Linked DNA regions of Homo sapiens: all the other regions are linked to region 5. The links are contacts of gene promoters, found by promoter capture Hi-C in human tissues and cell types (Jung and others, 2019). All regions are on one chromosome and are shown on one strand. Each heading gives the region's core, a stretch centred on a gene start or on the middle of the fragment in contact. The rest is flanking DNA. Distances are from core to core; before and after follow the strand shown. Region 1 has its middle 110 kb from the start of LINC02503. Region 2 overlaps LINC02503 (long intergenic non-protein coding RNA 2503). Region 3 overlaps LINC02503 (long intergenic non-protein coding RNA 2503). Region 4 overlaps LINC02503 (long intergenic non-protein coding RNA 2503). Region 5 holds the start of TET2 (tet methylcytosine dioxygenase 2).

Evidence for each region. The method cuts DNA at HindIII sites, captures the fragments that hold promoters and counts their contacts. A contact is called where the count stands out against the background at its distance.
Region 1: a contact is called between a fragment that was not itself captured here and the fragment with the promoter of TET2 in region 5, in 1 of the 25 tissues and cell types used here (lymphoblastoid cells).
Region 2: a contact is called between a fragment that was not itself captured here and the fragment with the promoter of TET2 in region 5, in 1 of the 25 tissues and cell types used here (mesendoderm cells).
Region 3: a fragment that was not itself captured here is called in contact with the fragment with the promoter of TET2 in region 5 in 1 of the 25 tissues and cell types used here (dorsolateral prefrontal cortex).
Region 4: a fragment that was not itself captured here is called in contact with the fragment with the promoter of TET2 in region 5 in 1 of the 25 tissues and cell types used here (mesenchymal stem cells).

The regions. Positions count from the first base shown.
Region 1 is chr4:104,067,300-104,069,999 of GRCh38, reverse strand. No RefSeq gene overlaps it. Among named protein-coding and RNA genes, the nearest start is that of LINC02503, 110 kb to the right of the region's middle. The HindIII fragment of the contact is 8,203 bases long and covers 1-2,700 here.
Region 2 is chr4:103,984,650-103,987,349 of GRCh38, reverse strand. All of the region lies in intron 3 of LINC02503 (long intergenic non-protein coding RNA 2503), which reads right to left. Among named protein-coding and RNA genes, the nearest start is that of LINC02503, 24 kb to the right of the region's middle. The HindIII fragment of the contact is 5,780 bases long and covers 1-2,700 here.
Region 3 is chr4:104,028,685-104,031,384 of GRCh38, reverse strand. The region is part of intron 5 of LINC02503 (long intergenic non-protein coding RNA 2503); the gene reads right to left. Among named protein-coding and RNA genes, the nearest start is that of LINC02503, 68 kb to the right of the region's middle. The HindIII fragment of the contact is 3,482 bases long and covers 1-2,700 here.
Region 4 is chr4:104,010,567-104,013,425 of GRCh38, reverse strand. The region is part of intron 5 of LINC02503 (long intergenic non-protein coding RNA 2503); the gene reads right to left. Among named protein-coding and RNA genes, the nearest start is that of LINC02503, 50 kb to the right of the region's middle. The HindIII fragment of the contact is 4,054 bases long and covers 1-2,859 here.
Region 5 is chr4:105,145,386-105,148,210 of GRCh38, reverse strand. It overlaps TET2 (tet methylcytosine dioxygenase 2), which reads right to left and starts at 1,335. Exons shown (of 11, transcript NM_001127208.3): 1 at 1,232-1,335. It overlaps LOC124900868, which reads left to right. Exons shown (of 3, transcript XM_047416559.1): 2 at 1,250-2,716. The coding sequence ends at 1,938. RefSeq lists silencers at 361-430, 1,394-2,073 and enhancers at 761-810, 1,154-1,323. The HindIII fragment of the contact is 6,833 bases long and covers 1-2,825 here.

The sequences.
Region 1 (2,700 bases), core at 148-2,647, 1.1 Mb after region 5:
AAAATTTCAAGATAGATGAAAGACTTAAATGTAAGACCTGAAACCATAAAAACCCTGAAAGAAACCCTGGACAATACCATTCAGGACATAGGCATGGGCAAAGACTTCATGACTAAAACACCAAAAGTGATGGCAACAAAAGCCAAAATAGACAAATGGGATCTAATTAAACTAAAGAGCTTCTGCACAGCAAAAGAAACTAGCACCAGAGTGAATAGGCAACCTACAGAATGGGAGAAAATTTTTGCAATCTGTTTCTGACAAAGGGCTAATATGCAGAATCTACAAGGAACTTAAACAAATTTACAAGAAAACAAACAGCCCCATCAAAAAGTGGGCAAAGGATATGAACAGACACTTCTCAAAAGAAGATATTTATGTGGCCCACAAACATATGAAAAAAAGCTCATCACTGGTCATTAGAAAAATGCAAATCAAAACCACAATGAGATACCATCTCATGCCAGTTAGAATGGTGATCATTAAAAAGCCAGGAAACAACAGATGCTGGATAGGATGTGGAGAAACAGTAATGCTTTTACACTGTTGGTGGGAGTGTAAATTAGTTCAACCATTGTGGAAGACAGTGTGGCAAGTCCTCAAGGATCTAGAACTAGAAATATCATTTGACCCAGCAATCCCATTACTTGGTATACCCAAAGGATTATAAATCATGCTACTATAAAGACACATGCACACGTATGTTTATTGTAGCACTATTCACAATAGCAAAGACTTGGAACCAACCCAAATGCCCATCAATGATACACTGGATAAAGAATATGTGGCACATATACACCATGGAATACTATGCAGCCATAAAAATGGATGAGTTCATGTGCTTTACAGGGACATAGGTGACGCTGGAAACCATCATTCTCAGCAAACTAACACAGGAACAGAAAACCAAACACTGCATGTTCTCACTCATAAGTGCGAGTTGAACAAAGAGAACCTACAGGCACAGGGAGGGGAATATCACACATTGGGGCCTGTCAGGGGGTGGGGGTCAAGGGAAAGGATAGCATTAGGAGAAATACCTAATGTAGATGACAAGTTGATGGGTGCAGCAGACCACCATGGCACATGTATACCTGTGTAACAAACCTACACATTCAGCACATGTATCCCAGACCTTAAAGTATAATAAAAAAAGAAGTTATAAGAAATATAAAATAAATATACATTAATTTTAAATGGATTTTCTACTTGTAAAATGTTGCATTAAGCTTGTATGAGTTAATAATTCATTCATTTTATTTCTTTAAAAAGAAATTATAAGTCCTCCAATAAACTATAAAAGAAGTAACATTAGCTGAGGAACACTAACATGATTTCAGATAGAAGAACACCCTGAGTCAAAGTAAGACAAATGGGAGATTTATTCTAACTTATAAGAGAATATTAATTCTCATGATTACCAGACAGAACACTCTAATCCCCAAATTAAGCTCAAAGAAGGTAGACTGAAAAAAATCTAATAACTAAAAGAAGTATTTTTTTCAGAGATATGGCCTAGTCAGTTGGTGTTTGATAAAGTGGACAGAATGTTCTGCTAATCAGGATAAGGTAGATCAGGGCTATTTGAACATTGTGGCTCTTAGCAGAGTAGTGAGTAGAAACCAGGTTTAAACATAGATGTTTCAATGGGACATTGTATAAGAATATAAACTTATTAGAAATCTTGCAAGTAGGAACAGTCTACTTCTACTATAGATTTTCTCTTGTGTTTTGTTTTAATATTAATTATGTTTGTCATTGATAAAATGATAAACATCTTAACTCCTTGGAAATTAATTTTGACTGTATAAAACCTAAATGGTAATTTTTGGACTGTAAATAGTTGTTTGATTCTGAATCACTAGGTTGGGGTTGTTTCTCAGTAAATAAGAGGGTATAGTTACGTAGAAGAAATACGTCCTAGCATTTGATAGCACTGTTGAGCAACTACTGTTAATTATTATACATTGTATATTTCAAAATAATTAGAAGAGAAACTTTGAAATGTTCCTAGCACAAATAAATGATAAATGTTTCAGGTGATAAATATCTGAATTTCCTTGATTTAATCATTATACATTGTATGAGTATATCAAAATATTACATATGCCCTATAAGTATGTATAACTATTATTTATCAATAAAAAAACATTTGGATAGAAAAAATATAGCATCCCTCTCCTTTTTTATTTTGAAAATAATTTTTAAATTATGAACAAAAAAATTAACATGATCAATGGCATTCAGATCATTGAAGTTTTTCTATCAACTGTGTTTAAGACAAGAAGGATAGGAGTATGCAAAAGGAACAAGACATGTATAAGGAACTTGTTTTGTAAAACAAACCTGGAATCTATTTGAGCTTTTCTTCTTTTTTTATGCTTTGCAGTAGTTTATACAGCATTGGTATTGTTCAGTGTTTCAGCATTTTTTTATTATAAACTGAAAAATTATAATTGTATATATATTGGGGTACATGGTGATGTTATGATATATGTATACAGTGTGGAAGGAATAAATCAAGTGAATTAACATATGACCTCACATACTTGTTATTTTTGTGGTGAGAAAAATTTATCTTTTAGCCATTTGAAGTTTGCCAATCATTATTATTAACTGTGATCACCAAGCTGTGGAATAGATGTCAAAAAACTTTTCCCTCCTAACTGAAACTTTATACCAATATCTTGCCATTTCCCC
Region 2 (2,700 bases), core at 81-2,580, 1.2 Mb after region 5:
AAGCTTTCTAGGTGAATGGTTTATCATATTCTTAGTTCTCTCACAGAATGAAAGATTTTAGCAGAAAAAAATAGGTTTTTATGCAAACATTGAGAAGAAGCTGGCAAAAGAAATTTCTTACCTTCATAGGATCCCATACACCATTAAAGGTAAACAGTCCTGAGTAGTAAGAAGAAGTTTCCTACCTGAATGGTGCATTACATTGAGTGTTCTCCCAACAAATGGAAGATTTTCATTTAAAATGGAATTTGTAGGCAGACATTCAGAAGAACAAGTTTCTTACCCCCATAGAGTCCTATAGCCCTATAGTCCTATAAGGTTCAAAGCCCTGAGGAGTACGAAGAAGATTCCCAGACAATCAATGTATCATATTCTGTGTTCCTTCGCAGAATGAAAGATTTACTTCACTGAAAATGAAGTTCTGTTCCTCTTGACTGCTTATAGTAAAATGCAAGAAGAGAGAAATGAATTAAAGATGAAATTGTTAATCAGAAGAGAAGCAGAACTTAAAAACTGAGAAAATGCTCAATCTTTACCTACTGGAAAAAAATAAGAAAGCCTTTTTGGGAGACAATAGGGGTGAGGCCAAGTGACATTATGATAATGAGTTTCGTATGGATTGACCATCTCAATGGAAGCCAGATGTTATTCATCCAGATATGGGAAGACTTGTCAGCATCTAAATAGAAACCAGGATCTAATGTCCAAGACAATGGAAGAATGACCTGAAAACATTTTGGAGATCATCAGGACTATCCCTCCTATCAGAGTCCCAGAATGCTAGAGCCTACAGGGTAGAATGATTTCAAAAGAGACACTGCTGCCCAGAACTGCTTTGCATTATAGGATCCATTTCCTGCACTCTGGCACCATTCTGCTTGGCTGCCCCAAGTGCAGCTCTGGCAGGACCTCATGTGGCGTGCACCGCATTCAGCAAAACTGTGGGAACATGGTTGCCTCCACTACATTTCAAAGGATGCACTGGGGAGCTGTGGGGCCCAGACTGGGAATCACCACAAGGGGAGGGCCACCACAAAAAGTCTCCACTAAAGCAATGCCCAACAGGGCCATAGGGACAGGGGTGACTCTGAAAACTCAGACCAGAAGAGCCACCAGCATGTGACTCCATGAAAACCGTGGCATAAGCTGCACCCAGCAAAGCCATAGGGGTTGGGCTTCCCAAAGACAGGTGCCAGACAACACTTCACAGGTGGGACCATTGCCTCACTTGGTCCTGAAAGAAGGACCTCTGTCCCAGTGGGCATGGAAGGCAGAGCATCAAGTCCACGCAGATTATTCTCAAACCTTAAGGGTTTGGATTTGCTCAGGATCTCTAACTTCCTTCTTCTTTCCTATTTCTTCTTTTTGGAATAGGAATATCTATCCTATGTTTGTTCCTTCATTGTATTTTAGAACCATAGAATATGTTTGATGTAACAGGTTCATATCTGGAGAGTCATTTGCCTTGGAATGAATTATACATTGAATCTCATCCATATCTGATGATATGGTATGTGATATGGTATATGATATCTGAAGGAGATACTGGATTTAGATTTTAAAATTGAGGCTGGACTCTGTTAAGACTTATGAAGTTATCTCTCTGTTTTTTTTTTTTACTGTGATGGTGAATTTGATGGATCAATCTCATGGGTCATGGGGTGCCAAGATTAAACATTAATTCTGAGAGAGTTGGTGACTGTTTTTCTGGATGATATTAGGATTTGAATCAGTGGACTAAAGAAAGTAGATTGCCTTCTCTAATGAGGAAAGGCATCATCCAATTTGCTGAGGATCTGAAAAGAACAAAAGGCAGAGGAAGGGGGAATTTACCCCCTTTTTTCTCTGTTTTACCGCTTAAGCCTAGACATCTCATCTCATTTTTTTCCCTCACGCTGGTATTTCTATCATTGGCTTCCCTTATTCTCAGGTCTTCTGAATCAGACTGAATTACACCATCTTTCTTGGGTCTCCAGTTCGCAGAGAGCAGATCATGGAACATAACTTAGAACACAAACAATGACTTATGACATCGTTATTAAACTGAAGAACCAAAATATTGCCAAAGCATTAGAGACAGATGGTTATCCCCTACTCTTCTGTTTTCCATGAGGAGGAAATTTCCTTAAAAACTCTTGACTTACCCACTCACTTTCAAATTCTCTCAAGGGAGAAAAATAACTTCTCAAGATGGCATAATTTTGAAAAAGTATTGGAATCTTTCTTGTCAGATAGATAAAGGCAGATAAATAAACCATTCTTGCCAGGGTCCTCACTGAAGACAGCACACACTTTTCCTCTGCTTCTCCTTGCCTTAAATTTTACAAGGCAGCATCCCATGGGAGGCCAATGATAGTGAGCAACTAGATAAATACACCTATTTCAAGGATGCAATATTAGGAGTCAAATCATCACCAATCTGTGAAACAATGTTCTTCAACATCAGCTACATCATTTACTCCCAATTGGTTTTAAACTTGGAAAGGGAAGTGAGAAATTCTTCAAACCCCACCATTAAACAATAAGCTTTAAACTAGTAAGGGGCAGAGATATGATTTAAACAACAATCTGAATAATTCTACATGCTTATTTCAAGGAAAAGAATTTTTTAGAAAAGAATTTTTTAAATAAGAATTCAGGACAAATATCTTAATGTCTCTCTCAAACTTACTGCAAGGTCATCTTGTATGTTAGAATCAT
Region 3 (2,700 bases), core at 189-2,688, 1.1 Mb after region 5:
TGAACTCATCATTTTTTATGGCTGCATAGTATTTCATGGTGTATATGTGCCACATTTTCTTAATCCAGTCTATCATTGTTGGACATTTGGGTTGGTTCCAAGTCTTTGCTATCCTGAATAGTGCCACAATAAACATACGTGTGCATGTGTCCTTATAGCAGCATGATTTATAGTCCTTTGGATATATTCCCAGTAATGGGATGGCTGGGTCAAATGGTATTTCTAGTTCTAGATCCCTGAGGAATCGCCACACTGACTTCCACAATGGTTGAACTAGTTTACAGTCCCACCAACAGTGTAAAAGTGTTCCTATTTCTCCACATCCTCTCCAGCACCTGTTGTTTCCTGACTTTTTAATGATCGCCATTCTAACTGGTGTGAGATGGTATCTCATTGTGGTTTTGATTTGCATTTCTCTGATGGCCAGTGATGATGAGCATTTTTTCATGTGTCTTTTGGCTGCATAAATGTCTTCTTTTGAGAAGTGTCTGTTCATATCCTTTGCCCACTTTTTCATGGGGTTGATTGTTTTTTTCTTGTAAATTTGTTTGAGTTCATTGTAGATTCTGGATATTAGCCCTTTGTCAGATGAGTAGGTTGTGAAAATTTTCTCCCATGTTGTAGGTTGCCTGTTCACTCTGATGGTAGTTTCTTTTGCTGTGCAGAAGTTCTTTAGTTTAGTTAGATCCCATTTGTCAATTTTGGCTTTTGTTGCCATTGCTAAAACACCAAAAAATGAGTTTCTAACCACAGGAAACAGGATGTGTGAAAGCTGTTTCTAAGTGCTGATAGAACTATTGCAGTAGTCCAAATGAGGGATGATGGCTGGATGGTGGTTGTAGGATGGAGTAAAAGGAACAGATTTCAGAGATATATGTAACTATTTTCACAGGACATTCTGATGGTTTGTACACTACTATGGCTTTTAATATATACACAAACCATGACTTGTGAAGGGCAAATAAAGTTTAGTATGAATAAGATTTTAGATAGCACACATAAAAGAATAAATTCTGTCACATATAGTTTACTTGTCAGTAAAAGTCAATGCTATAGATTTAATGCAAAGGAAAGGCTAGAAATCTCTAAATTGCCAGCAAGTGAACATGATAAGCTTTGTGACAATTGAAGAGATGCCAAAGATGTTATTGAGGTCAATAGAGATAATATGTGTGTGTGAGCAGTAGTAATATAACAATCTATTTAAATGGATATATTCAATATGAAAGATCTTAACACAAACCTTATAGCAAGGACATTCTTATATAACTAAATTTGCAAATAAAATATCATTTGTTTGATTTTATGTAAATGATTTGTCCAATGTAATGTAAATAATGTAAATGATCAACTTTGATGTTCTACTTGTATTTACTTGATATTTTTTAATCTGCATAAATTTAAAGAGTACAAGGGCAGTTTGTTACATGGATATATTGTTCAAAGACTTACAACTGCAGGATATGATATTGTATGTTGAGGCTAGACACAGATCATTAGAGATGATTAACACTACTCATTTGACATATGAATAGAATAGCAAAATTAATCAGGAAGCTTAAAATTAATATAATACAAAATTCAGACTAAGACATTATTTGAATTATTTTAACCATATCTTACCCATTACATAGGATAAAAGGATGTTCTAACTTATTCTGAAGTCAACCATTCTATAGATGCAGAAGATAAGTAACTAAAGATACAATAAATCATATACACACATATATAGTACAATGGTATTATAATATCCATATAGTACTGAATAATGCAGATATAATACTAAAATTTTGCAGAAAATAAGGCTTCATATATTATTTATATATCTATTTGCCTGTTATCCAAGACTATAATCTACACAGAATAGCAGAATTATGGAAATTCACCTGCTAAAATGCATTTGAATGCATTTAGGAAAAAAGCTATGTTAAAAACAAATACCTTGACAAACTCATCAATTATTACATGGTATGTAGTTTAAATACATTAGAGGATATTGACAATTTTAATACCAATCATCTCTATCCCTATTTCTGCATTTCAGAGGCCAACACTTTCAGTTCTTTTAGTTTTTCACTCTAGTATGTCTATCCCTTTTTAGAACAGCACATTTGTACTGCTATTTATTGATTTACCATAATAATATCAGTTGACTTCCTGTTAAGATAGAGAAGAATTTAGTTCATTTACATTGATCCTCCCCTCACTTTCCTTCTATACTGTTGTGGAACAATGTTTAATTAACTCAATATCCAGATTTTATATTGTTATGACTATGTAAATGTTGTTCACCATTAAATCAAGTAGTGTTTTATGTTATGTTTCATTTGAGAAATTTTTTTCCCAGGGAGCTACTAAATGCTTATGTTTCATCCTTTTATTCATTCATGATCCAATTGATATTTTCCTCCTACGCCAGCAGACTTTTCAAATACCTGTTGAACATACTTCATATTTTCAAATGCCTTGACAGTTTTGTCAGTTCTGCAGGCTTTGTCATCTGGTCTGTCGGAAACAATGGCCTTATACATGTCAGATTTTTAATGAGAACACTATTCTTTTGCATGGATCAGTTTTATTTGCCCCACTAAACATCTCTTTTTCTGCAACCTTTTTTATTCCTGTTTCAATCTAGATTAAATCTAGATTGTCTGCTGCCTCAAAGCCATCAACCTGGTATTTCTTGTCACCACTTTCATA
Region 4 (2,859 bases), core at 278-2,777, 1.1 Mb after region 5:
GTTAGATAAAGATGATTGTAATACCTATTTCTTGGAGTGGCTTTGAGAAAGGGGTGAACTAATGCACGAGGATACGCGTTGTGTTTTAAAGCACTATACAAAGGTAAAATATTAAGCACTAGAAAGCTGTTTGGTACTGCTAAGTCACAAATGTTCCCACATATTAACCTTTTAGTGACTAAAATAGAATTCTAATTATCTTACTGGTATTCTCGTATTCAGTAAAATAAATAACATAGCTTGCAAGGATACACACACACACACACACACACACACACACAGTACATGTAGTCACTCTCCTATAGGACTCAAAGCTTTGTTCAGTTTGAATCTTAAAAATGTGACTCATAGATATTTTGCTGTTTTCTGACTTTGCCCATTTGAACAAAAGTTGCCTAACATTAAATCCTAAAAATAAGTCCAAAGCTATTATTGATTCATTAAGAATAATTACAAATAAATCTACCTTTCCAGTTTCATCTTGCCAAATTACCTTCCTGATTTCTTACTATATGCCCATGCATTGCAGACTCCTAATATTTAACCAAGCTATGTTCTACTATTCTTCTGTGCCTTTGACCATGTGAATCATTAATTTGATTATTTTATCCTCATTATTTTATCTATTTGATAAAAAAATTCTTGTTTTTCAAGGCTCAATTTATACTACTTCCTTAGTGAAGCTATCTCCAAATTCCTTGTCAGTATTGGGACATCCTCTTTATATAGCTCTTCCTACCTGTACTAAACATGACTCATTATTTTATAAATATTATTAATATGGATGTTCCTATTTAAACTCTTAAAGATAGTAATATCGTGATGTATATTCTTATATTTCTGTGCCTATCCTAGTGTCTAGCACATAGCAGATCCTATAGTAATTGAAAATTTCTTTTAAATATGTACTTAAATGTAAGCTAAATTTTCTAGCAGTTCATCAGTTTGAATGATGCTCAAATTTACTTTTTCTCTTCTTTTTGTACAGTTGTGGGAAAGCAGAGATTATAAAAAGACTATGGGGAAAGATGTTTTTGGCTGCCAAGCACATAGTCTCCCCTTCAAAACTCTGTGATAACAGAATAAATAGTGCTTCCTATTATGCACAGAGGGAATATTTAAACCTAAGGGACAAGTGAGACAGATGATTTGTCATGGTTAGGGTGGTTAACATTGGCCTCAAGGCTATCGGTTAATCTAAATGAAATGGTCAACAAGACTAGAAAGGATCAGTAAAGCTACTGATATGGTAACTGTGTTTCTAAGGTAGAGTCCATTAAGAAACAAGGATGCCACAGTCAGGTGGTCTGCTAGGGTACGGTTTTGAGAAGCAAATACTGGGCACAGCTTAATAAGGGAGTACAAAAGACTAAGCCACCATTTATTTCTGCAAACAGAATCAGATAAGTATTTTCAGTGCAGTAAGAGCTATGCACAGAAATACCAGGTTGTGCAACGAGAGAAAGAGATGCAACAAAGAATGTCTGAAATTTGTGAAAGTAAACAGACTTCTCAGAATAACAATAAAAATTAAAATTTTTGTCATAACATTTAGCACATTTGAATCTGAAATTGAAAAATTACTTTTGTATATAGATTTATTCTAAGGATCATCAGGGAAAAATGATGACTACTTAGGCTAAGACTAAGCTTCTAAATATCCATAGTTAAAATATTTTATCAGATCTGCTTGAAAGGATATTTGTAGTCAAATAGTGCCCATTTTGTATGCATGTAGCAATTTTAGATAGGTAGTGCTAGTTAAGAGTTTGGCAAAACCATGTGTCATTTACTCATAATGTATATAGATTCTTTTTAAAAAATGGCCATTCAGATTGAAGGGCCAAATTTTCATTTTATTAGCAAAGAAATACTTGGTATAGGAGAGCGTGAAAATTTACACTTAGATGTGATTTTGATGACTATTCATAAACTACCCTAGATTTTTTTTTCTTACATTCTTTCTTAGATGGGACCATTACACAGCAGTCAGTATATACCTGATACCAAGCCTGATGAAATTTGCCTGCTTTCAGTCCACTTGGACTGCAAAAGTACGGTGACGGAAGCACTGGCTTTGGAAGTTTTGGTTTTCAGCAAAACTCTCAACATAAAAGCACATAATAGTAGCACATTATCCAAAAGAGTCCTCAAACAGGTTCTTTAAAGGCAGAGCCTAAGACAGAGACTCAGGTGCATTATAGCTTACAGAAGGACTCTGGAGGAAAAACCCATGAAGAATTACACGGGATGGGGAAAGGGAAGGGGCTGAGCAATGATGTGGTCCCACATAAAGTTTAGACTTGTTCCTGATCCATTTCAGGGAGAGAGAGCCCTGAAGTACACATTGTGATTTGCTCAGCAATGATACCCTGCTTTGAGAGAAAGGAGCTGGGCTTTTCTGCTACCTGTGCCCCACGTGTGTCAGTCGTTGTTGTTATGGGTGGAGAGATGTTGTAGTCTCCTAAGCATATTCAGCCCAGTGGCATTTCTCTGGAGACATAATCCCTTTGAAGCATATTCAAAGTACCTATGGGATGAGGGCAGTGGCCCAGTGAAAAGAATCTGGCCTGAACTCTCTAAAACACCTACTAGCAAAAGGAATGTATGCACACATAAATTACAGAATTATATATTTTGAATATATTAACATTAAACTCTATATAGTTAACCTTATAATTTTATTTTAATTTATTCACAATATATACACAGCAAATGCCTGATGTGGATATAAGCGGTTTAGCAGGAATTTCCACTGTTTAAATTATGTTGCAATATTAGATTGGTGCAAATGTAATTGTGATTTTTGCCTTTAAAATTAATTTTATCACCTGGTTCTCACTTTAACAAAATTATTAA
Region 5 (2,825 bases), core at 86-2,585:
TTTCCAGGAGTCTATCCAGGCCACACTTCATTATGTCATAGGTAGAAAACTCTCCATACAAACCCTATTAGCTTAATAAAACTAGACAAGCAGTCCCAGTGAAAAGATTCAGCAAGATGCGAGTGAGGTGTGTGTGTGTGTGTGTGTGTGTATGTGTATGAGAGAGAGAGAAGAAAGAGTAGAGAGGAGACACAGAGAGAAAGGCAGAGAGATGAAAGACCAAAGAGAGAAGCCAAAGAGAAATTTGGATGGGACTGTTATAAATCTGCTCTTCACTTCTTTGCTGGGATTGGGTTTCATTTCTTTAGGCGCCCCTGACCTTGCAGTCTTGCAACTCCAACGCTGCGCTCCCCACCCCCTCCCGCCCCCTCCCCGGGCCTGCGCCTGCCTTTGTGTCTGCCTGTCACTTACCAAGGAACCAAACGAAGCTGATTCGGGAGAAGCACAAAGCCGGGACACAGATTTGTCCATAAATTCTCTTACATACATTCCCCAGGCTGGAAGGCTCAGCCCAGCGCTGACTTATGTACCTTGAGAAAAGTGAGTTCTGGTCTTGTTTGGGGAACCAGAGAAACTATTCTTTCCTCTTTCACTCAGCGCCGCTAACAAAACGCGCGGACTTAAGGAAAAAAAAAACCCACTCAGTGTACTCCAATTCCACTCCCTGTGACATTCACTTCGTACAGCCCCCTAAAGGGGGATAAGAAGGTAGGAGGAGGCAGACACAAACCCAGACCCAGACCCTACAGCTGATAAAAGGGTCGAAAAACACCCTATCAGTGTTCTCTCTGAGGTTGTTCAGGATAAACGGGAGACTCGTTTCACTTACACGAAAGAAACAGGGGAAGAGGATTAAAGGGAAAAGTAGTGCCCCCAAAGCTGAACTATTTTAGAAAGGAAAGCAAATTTAAAAATCACTTTTCTGAGGATTAAAAAAGGCCGGGAAACCGGCTCGTCGGAGGCACAAAGGTAAGTTTTCTGGGAGATGAGGGGACGAGCATTAGGAGGAGAGAAGAGAACACAGAACTACAGGTTTAAAAGGGGTAGAGGGAATTAAAACTATATTTGTCAGCCATGTTGAAGAGGCTCCAGTAATTTGTGAAGCTTCCCTCTTCCCTCTTGGTATTTGTGGGTGACACTACAGGGTTTGCTCCCCAGTCCCTGGAAGCCCGAGAAAAAGCGAAGGGGAGAAGAAAGGGAGAGTTTCGCGGCATAAGAGAAGCGCTCTGACCTCGTTCTCGTCCCTCAGCCTTGCAGCAATCCAGCAGTTGCAGTCGGGTCTCCTTTCTAACAAATCCTAAAGGGCAGCCATCTTGCTTCCTTCTGCTTCTCTACGAAAGCAGCCTAGCCTCCGCATCAATATTCATAAGGCAGTTTGACGTCTGTTCTCATCACTCAGCGGGGCCGGCGTCTCGGGGCGGCCGCGCCGAGGGGGCGGACGTGACTTGCATGCGAGCGGGACCCGGGCGCGCGGCGCTCGCGAGGAGGCGGCGGCGGCCGCCCAAGCTCTCGCCGCTGCCACTGCCGCTACCGCCGGCTCTCCTCCTCCGCCCGGGCCTCCTCCTGCTCCGCCCCGGCCTCCTCCCGCTCCGCCCCGGCCTGCGCCGCCGCCCTGGGGCCCTCAGCCCCGGCTCCCAGGGAATTAGCCCCCCGCACCGGGCGTCCAGCACAAAGGCCGGCGGCACCTGGGGCCGTACAGCGGGGCGCGCAGTGGAGACCTGGGCTGCCCTCACGCCGTGCAGTGGCGCGGGGGGAGTGGTGCGCCCGGACCAGCGCGGAGTAGGGGCCAGGGCTGGCGAGCGCGGGGAAGGGTGCAGCCCTCGGGAACCCCGGGGACCTCGGCGGGTCTCCACCCCTGGGAGAAGAAGCAGAGCAAGCGCGAAGGTTGGGGGCGAGGTGGGAGGTTGGGATGGCACGGGTGCCTGGACAAAGACGTGACATCTAAGATTTCCCTTTGAAACTTTTTGCTGGTCTGCACTCCACCACCACTTCGAGGTCCCGCGCACACGCCCCCGCGCGCACCCACCTCCTCCGGAGTGTACCCGCACGTGCCCTCGCTCTGGCCCCCGCCTCCACCCACTGGCACCTCTCCCCGCACCACACCTCCGCTTGCGCCCACCTTACCCTCAGAGGCCCGCGTCTCTATCTCCCTTTAGATCCCGTTGCCCGCGCTCTCCTTTCCCTTTTCTGTCGCTTTAATCTCATTCAGCAGAAGCGCTCCCCTGTTTCACCGAGGGCATGCCCTTAGTGCTTTAGGGGCCTGTATTTTTAAAGACCCGACAAACTGGGAAATTGACCGAGTTCTGTTTCTCCCCGCCCCGGCCCACCTTCTGTTTACTTTAGCCACGTGGGCTGAGTAGAAGGGGGCGTCTCACAGATTGAAATAGGTTTCTCACTAGTGACCCCCTACTTCTCGCTAGGAGGAAATAAACCTGCACTTTCAAATGCTTAAGTTGCCTCTCGTAAGAGCCCTTACTTTGAAGTAGTTTCCCCCCGTACAATTAAGTAATGAAGAAACCGACCGATACAGAGCTAATTCCGAATGACGGATGCTTGATTTTCCCTGACATTCGGAGCTCTGTAACTATGCTCTTCCTTTGACCGGAGTTTTTCTCTATTGCCGAGTAGTGTTACTTCCCCCTTCTAATGCTCCTTTTTCTAATCATCAACTTTTTATTTGAAGATGAGATGAAGAACAAAGCCCATATGAGTCATAGTAAGTATCATATTACGTCAGATAGTCGTTTTTGAAATATTCCCTTCATCTTTTACATGTTCTTACATGACTGACGTTCAAATTTTAAGTGGGTATTTTGGTCACATCT